Regions from separate parts of the Homo sapiens genome. Here all the other regions are linked to region 2. The links are contacts of gene promoters, found by promoter capture Hi-C in blood cells and fetal thymus (Javierre and others, 2016). All regions are on one chromosome and are shown on one strand. The core of a region is centred on a gene start or on the middle of the fragment in contact, and the rest is flanking DNA. Distances in the headings are between cores, read along the strand shown. Region 1 overlaps ZNF772 (zinc finger protein 772). Region 2 holds the start of ZNF45 (zinc finger protein 45). Region 3 holds the start of ZNF749 (zinc finger protein 749).

Evidence for each region. Contacts are between HindIII fragments. The CHiCAGO score rates a contact against its expected background, and 5 or more counts as called.
Region 1: a contact is called between a fragment that was not itself captured here and the fragment with the promoter of ZNF45 in region 2, in 4 of 17 cell types (non-activated CD4 T cells, activated CD4 T cells, naive CD8 T cells and 1 more). The highest score is 16.8, in non-activated CD4 T cells.
Region 3: the fragment with the promoter of ZNF749 here is called in contact with the fragment with the promoter of ZNF45 in region 2 in 4 of 17 cell types (activated CD4 T cells, naive CD8 T cells, total CD4 T cells and 1 more); the score reaches 7.7 in activated CD4 T cells.

The regions. Positions count from the first base shown.
Region 1 is chr19:57,471,594-57,476,065 of GRCh38, reverse strand. It overlaps ZNF772 (zinc finger protein 772), which reads left to right. Exons shown (of 4, transcript NM_001144068.2): 3 at 280-406; 4 at 1,645-4,472. The coding sequence ends at 2,792. Among named protein-coding and RNA genes, the nearest start is that of ZNF772, 3.7 kb to the left of the region's middle. The HindIII fragment of the contact is 6,834 bases long and covers 1-4,472 here.
Region 2 is chr19:43,933,899-43,938,322 of GRCh38, reverse strand. ZNF45 (zinc finger protein 45) reads left to right here and starts at 3,041. Exons shown (of 10, transcript NM_003425.4): 1 at 3,041-3,399; 2 at 3,629-3,897. It overlaps ZNF45-AS1 (ZNF45 antisense RNA 1), which reads right to left. Exons shown (of 3, transcript NR_184050.1): 3 at 2,509-4,424. The HindIII fragment of the contact is 8,828 bases long and covers 751-4,424 here.
Region 3 is chr19:57,433,002-57,437,471 of GRCh38, reverse strand. It overlaps ZNF749 (zinc finger protein 749), which reads right to left and starts at 2,147. Exons shown (of 3, transcript NM_001023561.4): 1 at 1,879-2,147. The coding sequence starts at 1,893. RefSeq lists enhancers at 1,583-1,632, 2,263-2,562. The HindIII fragment of the contact is 4,352 bases long and covers 74-4,425 here.

The DNA of each region.
Region 1 (4,472 bases), core at 1,013-3,512, about 14 Mb before region 2:
GACCCCAGAGGAATTTGCTTACAGAAGGGTGAGGCCCTGTATGCTAAGCACAGAGCTTAGAGGGTGACAACTTCTTCACCTGCCTGTGGTTGCTATGGGTAGACACAGTGATCCATTGGGACCATGAGGCGAGAGAAGACACCAATGACATCTGGTCCTGATATTTCCTGAGTTGAGGAGTTAGGTAGGAGGGTGTACAGGAGGGAGATGTGTGGGGGCACGGATGGGGGTTCTTGGGAGAGATGCTGCTCATGGACTTGGCTCTCCTGATTGTGGCAGGGGCAGGTGAACTTTGAGGACGTGTTCGTGTACTTCTCCCAGGAGGAGTGGGTGCTCCTTGATGAGGCTCAGAGGCTCCTGTACCGTGATGTGATGCTGGAGAACTTTGCACTTATGGCCTCTCTGGGTAAGGCCGTCACATCCACCCCAGTGACTTGGACTGGGTCCTGCCCTTCCCCTTTTTTTCAGGGCATCTTTGTCCTTCCTACATCAGAGCCGTGGACACTGTCTCATTTCTTAGTGCCTGGAGTAGGTTCTGTGAGTGCTGGGCTTGGGCTGTTTGCACTCCTACTTTCTCCTTTTGAGCATTCCCAGCGCTTGCTGTCTCAGAGCCTTGCAGGCATGGATTCAGGAGTTATGCATTGTATTGTCAGCCCAGTGGGTCATATCCATCTTGTCCTTTCCCTGTCTGAATTCCTCTGTCTGTATCCATGACACCTCTGTGCCTGGGATTCTGCGCTCTTCCTTTAGCTGACATTTCCTGTGGCCTGCCTATGTCAGGAATTGTAGGGACCATTATGGTCGCTACTTGCTAGGACCACTGCACTATTCCTGCAAGACCTTACTCTGAGATTATTTTAATAATATTTAGTTTTCTATATGGGTTACCCAGACCAGTGCTGTTCTATCTTTCCCTTAGGACATACATCTTTCATGTCCCACATAGTTGCCTCACTGGTGATGGGTAGTGAGCCCTGGGTACCTGACTGGGTGGACATGACCCTAGCTGTTGCCACAGAGACTCCAGGTGGGAGTGACCCTGGTGAGTAGGAGCTGGGGAAAGGTGTGATGTCAGGGCTGGGTTCATATCATTCCATAGCCTCTTTGTGCCTACAGTTGTATTAGTGCTAAGGCCACTGGCCTTTCATACTCTGGCCTTTGGCCTCTGGATGTTCCATACCTCTGCCTTCATGTCTCACCTGTTCCTCTCCATGGCTTGTTCTACAGTGCCTTCCAGCATTGGCCTGTACTTAGTGTTTCATGAGATGTGTAGCCCAAATAGTCCTTAAACACCAACTACTGAGTAGCAATTTGATTTTCTTTGGTATGGACCATAACCTTCTGCACAACTCTCACCTGTCCCCAGCAGCCAAGAAAATCTGATTGTGAATGACTTTGAGACCTGCCTCTTTTTTGTGCTGTACCCCACATCTTTGTCCTCTCCCAGTTGAGGCCTTCTCCATTCTATGACATTTAGATGCCAACTACCGTATAGTACACATTTGCTGAACTTGAGTTTGGACCCTTGTCCTAACAACAGTCCTATGACCTTGGTCTTAGTTGTGTTAGACACATATTTGTAGTGAGGCTTCCCCTCTTCCACCTGTGTCAATTTGTACTTCACCAGCATTTCTCTGCTTTCAGGTTGTTGGCATGGAATGGAGGATGAAGAGATACCTTTTGAGCAGAGCTTTTCTATAGGAATGTCACAGATCAGGATTCCCAAGGGAGGTCCTTCTACTCAGAAGGCTTACCCCTGTGGGACATGTGGCCTGGTCTTAAAAGACATTTTGCACTTGGCTGAGCACCAGGAAACACACCCAGGGCAGAAACCATACATGTGTGTGCTGTGTGGGAAACAGTTCTGCTTCAGTGCAAACCTTCACCAGCACCAGAAGCAGCACAGTGGAGAGAAACCCTTTAGAAGTGATAAGAGCAGGCCCTTTCTTCTGAACAACTGTGCTGTGCAATCAATGGAGATGTCTTTTGTGACAGGGGAGGCTTGTAAGGACTTCCTAGCCAGCTCAAGCATTTTCGAGCACCATGCCCCTCACAATGAGTGGAAGCCACACAGCAACACCAAGTGTGAGGAGGCCTCTCACTGTGGAAAAAGGCATTACAAATGCAGTGAATGTGGGAAAACCTTCAGCCGCAAAGACTCACTTGTTCAACACCAGAGAGTCCACACTGGAGAAAGGCCTTATGAGTGCGGTGAATGTGGGAAAACCTTTAGCCGCAAACCCATACTTGCTCAGCACCAGAGAATCCACACTGGAGAAATGCCTTATGAGTGTGGCATATGTGGGAAAGTTTTTAATCATAGCTCTAACCTTATTGTACATCAAAGAGTACACACTGGAGCAAGGCCTTACAAGTGCAGTGAATGTGGGAAAGCCTATAGTCACAAATCTACACTTGTTCAGCATGAGAGTATCCATACTGGAGAAAGGCCATATGAGTGCAGCGAATGTGGAAAATACTTTGGTCACAAATACAGACTCATTAAACATTGGAGTGTTCATACTGGAGCAAGGCCTTATGAGTGCATCGCATGTGGGAAGTTCTTTAGCCAAAGCTCTGACCTTATTGCACATCAAAGAGTTCATAATGGTGAAAAGCCTTATGTGTGCAGTGAATGTGGAAAAGCCTTTAGCCACAAACATGTACTTGTTCAGCATCATAGAATTCACACTGGAGAAAGGCCATATAAGTGCAGTGAATGTGGGAAGGCCTTCAGGCAGAGGGCTTCCCTCATCCGCCACTGGAAAATTCACACTGGAGAAAGGCCTTAGGATGGGAGATAATTCCGTTTCCTTGTTCAACATAATAACTGACATCAGAGAGAAGCTCCAAGCATAGCCTTTATGTGTAGCCGACAGCCAGAAGTAGAACTTTATACACTCAAACACTCACCCTGGGGAGGTTCTTCCGAGTGCCAGCTATATGGGAAGCCTTCTGGAGCTATGCTGAATTTTCTAGACTCTTGCTGGAATTTCGTCAAGGCAGTGCCTGTTAGAAGCCATCTGTCTTTGTGCTGGAAGAGTCCTGCCTTGTGCCAAAGTAACCCCAATGTGTTTCAAAAGACAGACCTCTGTACTATTCCCTTCCCTGGAGGGAATCATCAGTAGCCTGAGGCCATCAAGGATTCTCACTTTTTTTCTGCCCCACTACTGGTTTAAGCATGAGCATGACCCAGTTTTAGCCAGAAAAATGGGAGCTTTGTTCTGCTGACCACTGGCAGAGGTTTCCCTTCATGGATATAGTTGATCTCACATGGCACTTGGGACGAATTTTTCTAGCCTTCAAGACACCTGACCTGAAATTGGCTGCCTCATATTCTGGTTTTGCAACAAATGCCTTAATTTTTAGACTATCTGAAATCTTGAGGATTCTGTTCGCTTTGTGGGTTGGGTTGAGAACAGAATTGAGCTAAGCCAGTATGAAGGGAAGAACAGCTTTTGTGAGAGCTCCAACTATCTGTATCTCTGAAGTGATAGTAGGATGGCAAAGACTAGCTCTTATGCTAGTGTCAAGCTAACTTACTTGACTGCTTCAGCTCTCCTAGGAAAGAATGCCAGTCTTTGTAGGCCTAATCTTTTGGTCTATATGTTAAGATTTTTTGTGTAATTGAGGTCACCCTAAGCAGTGGGCATTTGTTGTGATAATCTCTAATGTGTCTGGGAGCAACATGAATTACGTCCCTTGTTCCCAGAAGATACTTCATATTCCCAAGGCTTCTTGAGGAGAATTTGAACTCAGTGGACATGTCAAGATCTCTGAAGTCTATTTTTCAGTAGGCAGTTGATATTGGCTGTCCTCCAGAAGGCCCAGGTAGGAATCATAGTTGGTGCAGAAACCCAGATTAATAAAGGAATGAGAAAACTGCAGCAAACTATAGGGAATATGACCCTTCTAAAGGTACATCCACATGTGTTTCCATTACTCTGGCTCCATTATGAGGGTTTACAGAAATATTTCCATACCTGTGTCTCTTATGGCTAAGGTTACTGTCCAGAAGTCAGTCTAAACATTTTTGCAATAAACTGCACATATTTATAGTGTACCATTTGATAAGTTTTGATACATGTTGGCACTTCTCAAACCAAAAGTTTCCTGATTCCTTTTATATTTTCTCCCTTTCCTTCACCCATCCCCAGGCAACTATTGATCCGTTGTCACTGTAGATTTGTTTGTATTTCCTAGAATTCTACAGAGATAGAGTAATTTAATATGTATTCTAATGTTTTTGGCTTCTTAAACTCTGAAATTAAGGCTCATGGTGGTGTTCTGTGTTTCATAGTTCATTTCTTTTCATTTGTACTTTGCTAAGAGTGTTCCATTGTAGAGAAATAGTTTCAAAGCAAGTGATCCAGGAGAGAACTCACACAAGAACAAAGCCACAGTATCTGTCATTACCTTAAACTGAAAGTGATGAGCCGTCATTTCTGCTATATTTCATAAGTAACCCTAGC
Region 2 (4,424 bases), core at 1,792-4,291:
CACAAATTTGCAACTTCCCCAATTATCCCTATAAATAACATCGCTATTGCAGAACCTAAGATTGGCCTTTTGCTATGTCTTTTCAGGCTTTTGCATTTTTGATGACCAGACGACCCCACCCAGACCCACAACTCTTGACTCTACCAGTCATGTGACATCCACCCAGAAGAGGTCCACACCCCATGATTGCATCCCCAACCAATTGCATCCCCAACCAATAAACACACCCATTCCCTAGCCCCCTGCCCACCAAACTTATCTTTTAAAAACCCCAGCCTCCAAATTTTCAGGGAGGCTGATTTCAGTAACAGTAAAACTTCTGTCAATGAAAAGACTCAAACTCTGTAAAATATTTGAAGAGATTATTCTGAGCCAAATGCAAGCGTCCATGGCCCAGGACACAGCCCTCAGAAGACCCTGAGAACATATGCCCAAGGTGGTCAGGCCACAGCTAGGCTTTAGACATTTCAGTGGGACATAAGACATCAAGCAATATATGCAAGACATACGTTGGTTTAGTCCAGAAAGGTGTGACAACTGGAAGCAGAGGGGGTTGGGAGTGGAGGGCAGGGTGGGGGGTAGGGGTATGTGAAGTGTGTGGGGCTTCCAGGTTATAGGCAGATTCAAAGATTTTCTGATTGGCAATTGGTTGAAAGAGTTTATCTAAAGTCCTGGAATCAATAGAAAGGAAATGTCTGGGTTAGGATAAGAGATTGTGGAGACCAAGGTTCTTATTACGCAGATGAAGCTTCCAGGTATCAGTCTTCAGAAATAAGAGATCGTAGATTTTTCTCATCAGACTTAAAAAGGTAGCCCAGGCACGGTGGCTCACGGCTGTAATCCCAGTATTTTGGGAGGCCGAGGCAGGCAGGTCACCTGAGGTTGGGAGTTCGAGACCAGCCTGACCAACATGGAGAAACCCTGGCTCTGTTAAAAATACAAAATTAGCCGGGCATTGTGGTGCATGCCTGTAATCCCAGCTACTTGGGAGGCTGAAGCAGGAGAATCGCTTGAACCCAGGACGCGGGGGTTGTGGTGAGCTAAGATTGCACAATTGCACTCCAGCCTGGATGACAAGAGCAAAACTCTTAAAAAAAAAAAAAAGTGTCAGACTCTTAGTTGATTCTCTCCTGGATCAGAAAAAATGGCCTGGAAAAAGGAAAGGAGATTCTCTACAGAATGTAGATTTTTCTCCACAAAGGACAACTTTGCAGGGCTATTTCATGATAGGGCAATGAAACATATTTGGGGTTGAAGTATTTTGATTTCCTTTCTTATCCGTCATGAGGTGTTATGACAGGTTGGAAAGTAAGTCACATTATATAGGGTTAAATTAAAACCCCTCTCATGAGACTTTATGGTTTGGAGGGCTTGACTCCCCAGACCCTTAGATAGGAATTTGAGTAAGAAAAGAAAAAACGGCAGAGTTCAGTCTTCACCCTGGTCTCCCATTTAGCCAGCTCTACGTGTATTAAACTCTTTCTCTATTGCAATTCCTGTCTTGATAAATTGGCTCTCTCTGGGCAGTGGGCAAGATGAGTCCATTGGGTGATTACATTTCTCTCTTCCTCTTACTAAAGTAGAGAGAGTACTTATCCAGATTTTGAAATGGCATTGATGCAGGGCAGTTTCTTGGCTTTGCTCAGGAAAGAATTCAACAGCAAGCCAGCAGCGGAAGAAAGCAGGTTTATCGAATCAACAGTGTTAAAAGCTCAGTGACTGTTCCTTGCAGACCAAGACTAGCCCACAGGCAGTGTGCCCAGAGTAGCAGCATATGGGCTGTTGGCTGGGTATATTTATACCAACTTTTCATTACATGCAAATTAAGGGGTGAGTTACTCGGAAATCTCTAGAAAAGGGGTTGGTAACTTCCAGGTGTTGCCATGGCATTTATAAACCGTCACGGCGCTGGTGGGAGTGTCTTATACTGATAGGTAGCAAAGGGAACTTACAGGTTGCTTTCCATCACTTGCTGGTTTCAGCAGGTTTCTTATCTGATCTTGGAATCACGCCCTGCTGGTCTCCTGCCTCAGCCTAAATTGAACATTGTTCAGATGTTTACAGCTACTCCTATGTAGTCAACTTCCATTTTTTCTTCTTTACCCTTTCATAATAAACTTGGAAAAATATTTAGTTTCTACCTAGGAGAAAAGTGAATAGTATAGCTTTCTGTATTTTTTGCACTTCATGTCTTAATCCCTCACTTCACCTCCCTCTCCTTACTGAATATTCATAGACACTTTGGCAAATCATAAGACACCTTTACAGATTCCTGATTCTGAGAGCAAGAAGTGATGTGATTCCTTAATCTGAACTGAATGTTTTCAAGATTTTATATAGGATAGAGCCTATTCAATACTATAATACTTTCTTCAGTATCCTGCGAATGAAAGAAAACTAAGCGCAAGAAAAGTGGAGAATTTTGCTGCTTTTGTTTCATGTCCTGCTGGATGATTGCATCTCCTTTTTTGAGCATTTTTAATCACAGATGAATCCATACCCATATTATAAAAGGCTTGTTGCTCTGGGCGGCTCTGGCCACCTCTTTTATTACCTCTGTTTTTAGCTCACACATAGCATTCCTTTGTATTTTCCTTTTTTTTTTTCATATTCGCAACTTCTGTCACGTATAAAAGGGAACAATGGCAAAAGGAAAAAGCAGGCTGAGCTCTACAAGCAATGACTTAGACTCCCCCCGCTAATTCAAAAGGAAAATTGCAGGCTGGCGGGAAGCTCAGCCCTACAGAGGATTCTGGGACGTGTGGTCCAGACTTTTGGGGGCACTTCAGCTCTGGGAAAGCGCGGCTTTGTTATTTGCTCCCCTGGGGAAATAGGAACCTATACCCCAGTGCTCAGTGGGTTCGGTGGTACTTCGACTATTTGAGGACGAGAACACGAAGCCCGCTCCCCTTGGGGATTCTGAGAAATAAGATTCGGCCGTGGGAGTCGAAGCCCGCACTTCCGCCCAGGGGGCGGGGCAGCGGCTTCCGTTCCTCCCGGGGATGCTGGGAAATGTAGTTCCAGAGCTCCCTGCTCTCCCGGGCACTTCCGCGGCAAGAGGTTGAGAGCGCGGCCTTCATTCCTCTCGTGGAAGTGAGTGAGTCCTGGGACCCCGCGACCTGTTTTAACTTTTATGGTTTGGTCGTAGGATCAGCAGGGCTCGCACTTCGGTCAGCAGGAAAAGACGCTGCGGCGAGCAGCGGAGGGCGGAGTTGAATGGCTGGGCAGCTGATTGCCTTACTGTATCCGGAGCTGCTGCGTTCGGGGCGGTTCGGGAGTCCCCTGGTTGGAAGTGGACCTGAATGGGGAGGCGTCTGAGGATCTCCTGGGCTCTCAGCGGCCCGACCCGCCTTCCCCCACCTCCCACAGCTCTGTAGCTTCCTAGCGGTGTAACGTTGGGTGAGAACTTAATCTTTCGGTGCTTAGTTTCTGGTCTTAGTTTCCTCTTCTGCAAAAGGAAATATTAACCTTATATATTTGTTTTGACAATTAGTAATATAGTACAAGTAAAATGTGTATGGAATAGTACAGGAATGTGGCAACATGTCGGCCGTTAATATTAAAACTATCATAATAAAAAATATTCATTTTTCAGCAAGCGCCTGGCTCTTCTTTCTGATTCCTGCAGGAAAGGAGGCTGTTCTTGGACTATGCCTGACCCGTTTTTTAAGAAAGAGTGCATCACTCAACAGGTGGCGTCTGGAGTTATCCTCTGTGGATTTTCCAGGATCTCAGACAAGATCGTGCAATCTCCCAGCCTCCTTTCCTTCCCCTGCCCTGACTTCTGAAAGAATGCTGCGGGAGAGGAGGAAGGAGAGCATCCTGGCTTCTGGCAGCAGAGCCCCACTGTGACAGGACCTAGCATTCACCTTCCTCTTCTGTTCCGAGTGCGAGAAGGTATTTCATTCCTTGCAAATGTTTCTGCTACAGAAGTGTTCCGTTATTGTATAATTGGAGAAAATGTGACATGAATATTAGTCACACTAGTTAAACATTGGGTGCTGAGTATCACTCTGAGGGCTTTATAAAAACTAACACACTGAACCTTCACAAAGGCCTTGTGTTGTGGGTTCTGTTCACCTTACAAAGGTGATGTGGGTATTGTGATATGGGTACTGTTATTACACCAATTATACAGATGAGGAAATGGAGAGAGCCTAATTTACTTTCCTATATCACAGTGCTAGTAAGAACAGTGGGATTTGTGTCCTAGACTTGGGTTCCTTACATCTGAATACCCTTGGTCTCACAGTTTGAAATCCCAATTTAGAATTAGGAAATAAAATAGATAAATGATCCATATAAATAATCATAGGAAACTGGCTGCAGAGGAGCCATTTGAGATCAAGTTGGGGAGGGAGGTTGGAATTTTACTGTAGAAGATTTTGAAAGCAAGGTTGAGTTTAGACTTTAGAAAATTTTGA
Region 3 (4,470 bases), core at 898-3,397, about 14 Mb before region 2:
TTACAGGCATGAGCCACTGTGCCCAGCCCACACTTCTTAATGTTTTAAGGAAATGTGATATATATATAAAGCTTTGTACTATAAGCAGAGTTACAGGTAAATTAACATTCTAACAATAAATATTTTAATACATTTAAATTATTGATTACATCTATTTCCAATTGCCTATGTGTACATATTTAGAAGGATATTGGCTGAGGAAAAAAAAAAATAGCCCAGACCTGTCTGACCTACACAAAATGTATCAGGCTCAGAGAGGCAAGAATATATGAGATGTCAGTCACATCCCTGAACCTATGCCTGAGGACAACTGTTTTAAGACATTCTGTTCCTGACTAGCTGTCTCACCTATTATCTTCATGTTTCTGTAATCTATAATATAAATAAGAATGTATAGCCAATAAAAACTTATCTTATTTTAACATAAGTTATTGGTAAACAACTCAGAAACTGCTTCTTTTTTCCTTAAAAAAAAAGCAAACACTTGTCACTGTGGTAATTGAAGTGTATATTCAGGACAACTTGAATCTATGGTCCCAGATGGCTATCATCAACATGTGAACTTGAATAAACTCTCTTTAAACTAGATTCTGACTTGCTTGGTTATTTAAGATTGATATAGTTCCTTACTGTTTAAGTCAATTACCTGTTTTTACATCCCTAAGTTAATGAGTTGTAGGATGGGGCTGAGCAGTCAATCAGTTACTGGTCCGTTCAGCAAACAGGTCAGCCTGCCATATAATGCAGTAAAGGGAGCTTGCTGGAGGCCCTTAACTGTGGTGGAGGATGTGAGAAAGCCCTGCCCAGTTTTGGACCCAGTTGCTGCATGGCCTTATCTTGTTCCCTAAAGAGTGGCCCTCAGGGCCAGCTGAGTTAGAAGGGTGGAGTGACTACAATTATCTCATGCCTCAGTCTCTGTATTCCAGGGCAACTCCTTATCCATCCAGGCCTCTTTTTCAACAGAAACAGACCAGACTCTTAGCCCATATCTGCTCCCTTCTGCAGGGAGTATCAGAGATGCCCTCCCTACCATGGTCTTTCCTCCAAATCTGAGCCCTCCCCTACCTCAGCCCATATGAAAAAACGATGTAGGATTCTTCCTTCTCAATCTGATCCACAGGCCAACTTCTCAAGTGCACAACTTCTAACTCATTTAAAGCTCCAGGCCAGCTACCTTCCCTCACCTTTGGAAATTACGTCCACCTACCCATGTGATGTCGCCCAAAATCCAACCCAGGATCTTCTGTCTGAAACCCGCTCCTTAAGCTGATATCTCTAATTCCATTCTTTCAGATTTTTCAGGCCAAAACAAAACCTATGGAAGACACCATTCACTACCGACTTTCCCTCACAGCTATGTTTGATGCAGCAGGAAATCCTGTTGACCCTATCTCTGAGATCCATCCAGAGTCTCATCACATCTCCCCTCTACTGCAACCCCTCTGGCCCAGCCCTACCATAACTCAAGGGGTCTCCTCAGCGGTCCCCCTGCCCCCGTTCAACATCCTGTTTTCCCCAACTTTAAACTTCTAACTCTGGGCGTGACCCTCCCATTCGTCCTCCCTGCACAGCCCTCTATGGCTCTCTGCGGCTCCACTGCCCTTCCAGGGGAGACTCCGCCTCAACCTCTGCTCCTTGGAGACAAAGACGCTCGGGCTCCCCAGTGCCGCCCGTTCTGCAGTGCCTCCAAGCCCCAGAGACGTGTCGGTCTCCGACGGGAGCTCCCCCGCCTCATCGCACCGCAGTCCCAGTCCCGGGCACCCCACACAAGAACGCCCCTCTCTTAGAGACACAAGGGCCTAACCTGCAGGGCGGCTCCTTGGGACTTCAGCACTGGGAGGAGGGGTTGGGCGGGGCGGCCTGGGACGCTGCACGCACCTCGGTCAGGTTCATCGGCGCGGCCTCCTCCAGTCCACCCAGGGAAGAGCGGGGCGGGAACGGCGGTCACCTGGACGCTGACGGAGGCAGGGGCGCCTGCAGCCGACTCAGCCGATCCGCACTCTAGCCTCTGTGTAGAAGGAACACCGCTTCTCGCGTTTTTCCGCTCTTTCACCTCAGTCCCGACCCAGAGCTCTGGGACCCTCTAAATCAGTGAACAGATCCCTAGGTAGCCATGCTAACGCAACCATGAGGGCGCCGCCAGAAGTCCCGCCCACACAATTGAGACCTCATTAGTCGTCTCTCTGCTAGACCAATGGCTACACTCGCTGCCCTGCCCCCGCAGTGTCTTCTGGGTAATGTAGTTCTCACGTTGCTGCCTGTGTCGCCCGCAGTGTCTTCTGGGTAATGTAGTTCCCACGCTGCTGCCTGCCTCGCCTCACAATGCTGGGCGCGCGGACCTTACGGAAAAAAGCTGGAGGCTCCTGGAGGAGCGTTAAGAAATGCAGTTCCGGGGCTCTTAAGGACGTGGAGGGGCTTTGCTGACTCCTAAACTGCAAGTAACCAGATTTTCCCGGAGAGCAGTCTAGGACAAGTCTGAGAAATATTTCAGAGACCTGTCGTTTCAGATTCTCTGAAGCACAGCAAGTCCCGAAAGGAAGAACATCAGAAGCGACATGGCTGACCATAATGAACTGGTCCTCCATTCATAGCGGTCAGCTCTTTTGTGCTTGTCAAGTACACACATACTGAGGCTCTGGAGACTTTTTTTTGATCGTTAGTGTGCTTCTGTTGGGACAAGAAAGAAAAGACCCACACAGGATGTGATGGAGAGTTGAAGGAGGAATATCTTTCTGTCGACGAAAAGGGTGGAACTTTGTGAAATAGTTGAAGAGATTTATTCTGAGACAAATATGAGTGACTAATGGCCCATGACACGGCTCCAAGATATCCTAAGAACATATGCCCAGGGTGGCCCATCTACAGCTTGGTTTTAACAATTTAGGAAGACGTAAGACATCAATCAATACATGTAAAATGTACATTGGATTCCTCTGGAAAGGCGCAACTGGAAGGGAGGGGCGGGGCTTCCAGGTCAGGTGGGTTCAAAGATTTTCCGATTGGCAATTGGTTGAAAGAGTTTGTATCTAAAGACCTGGAATCAGTAGAAATGGTTGTCTGGGTTAAGGGGTTGTGGGCCGGGCGTGGTATCTCACGCCTGTAATCCCAGCACTTTGGGAGGCCGAGGTGGGCGGATCACCTGAGGTTGGGAGTTCGAGACCAGCCTGACCAACATGTAGAAACCCCATCTCTACTAAAAATACAAAATTAGACGGGCATGGTGGCACATGCCTGTAATGCCAGCTACTCGGGAGGCTGAGGCAGGAGAATCGCTTGAACCCGGGAGGCGGAGGTTACGGTGAGCCGAGATCTCGCCATTGTACTCCAGCCCGTGCAACAAGAGCGAAACTCCGTCTCAAAAACAAAAAAAGACAAGGGGTTGTGAAGACCAAGGTTATATCATGCAGATGAAGCCTCCAGGTAGTCTTATAAGGCCTTATGATAAGGCCTCAGCTCCTGAGCTAAAGCTATCTTCCCACCTCAGCCTCTAGAGCAGCTGGGACTGTAGGTACAGGACACCGTCCCTGGCTTTATTCAGCTTTTTACAATGCACTACAAAAAGTCGGCATTTAGAGCTATTTTTCTCTCACTGCAATTGAGTAGCAGTGAGAGAAAAATTGAGTAGCAATAGTATTGCCATCAGGTGGTGGCAATACTACCTGAAAACCATGCCCCCAACAAATGAAGATTTGGATAATGCCTTATGGTCTCTTCTGCAGGATTAGTGAAGGAAGAACAAAGAAAAGACCAAAAATTAAAACCCATTCTCTTTATATTCAGAAAAGGAAAGGGCTATTTTTTGGCCAAAGCGTTACAATTTAGTTTGCCAACCAGTTTAAAAAAAAAAAAAAAAGGAAAAATTAACTCTGCCCAACTGAAGGTCTGGCAAAAACAAACCTTTGAAAGGGTTGTGGGAAATTAATGAATATTAAACTAATTTTCAACATAACCAGTTAAAAATAAGAAATCCCACTAACGTGGATAGTTCCTTATTTAGGTGTGAGAAATTTGCTATACAAATGGACAACGGCTACACCAAATATAAAAATTGACTCTGACCCATAATCTACACCAACCCATTCAGAAATCTAATGTGGTATCTACAGTAACCACTCCCAAGTCAGAATACTATGTCTAGCAACAAGGCCAGGAAGCCAGACAACATCCCACATAACAACTCGCTTAAAATGGCTAAGACATGACTAAGAACTGACAGCTTTCTAATTGTTGCCCATATGTTCAACTTAGGACCAACTGGAGAAAGTCAGTGCATCACTAGCCAATCACATAGGATGTCAACCTTCTAAATAACCCCTTCACACACACACACACACACACACACACACACACACACACACACTCCTCAAGACTATAGCCTCCAGTCATGGCATACCTAATACTTTACCTTTTATCTACTATGAAGCTTTTTACACCTCTGCTTGCCTTTCAAGCTCTGCTGAGTGCAAGAGA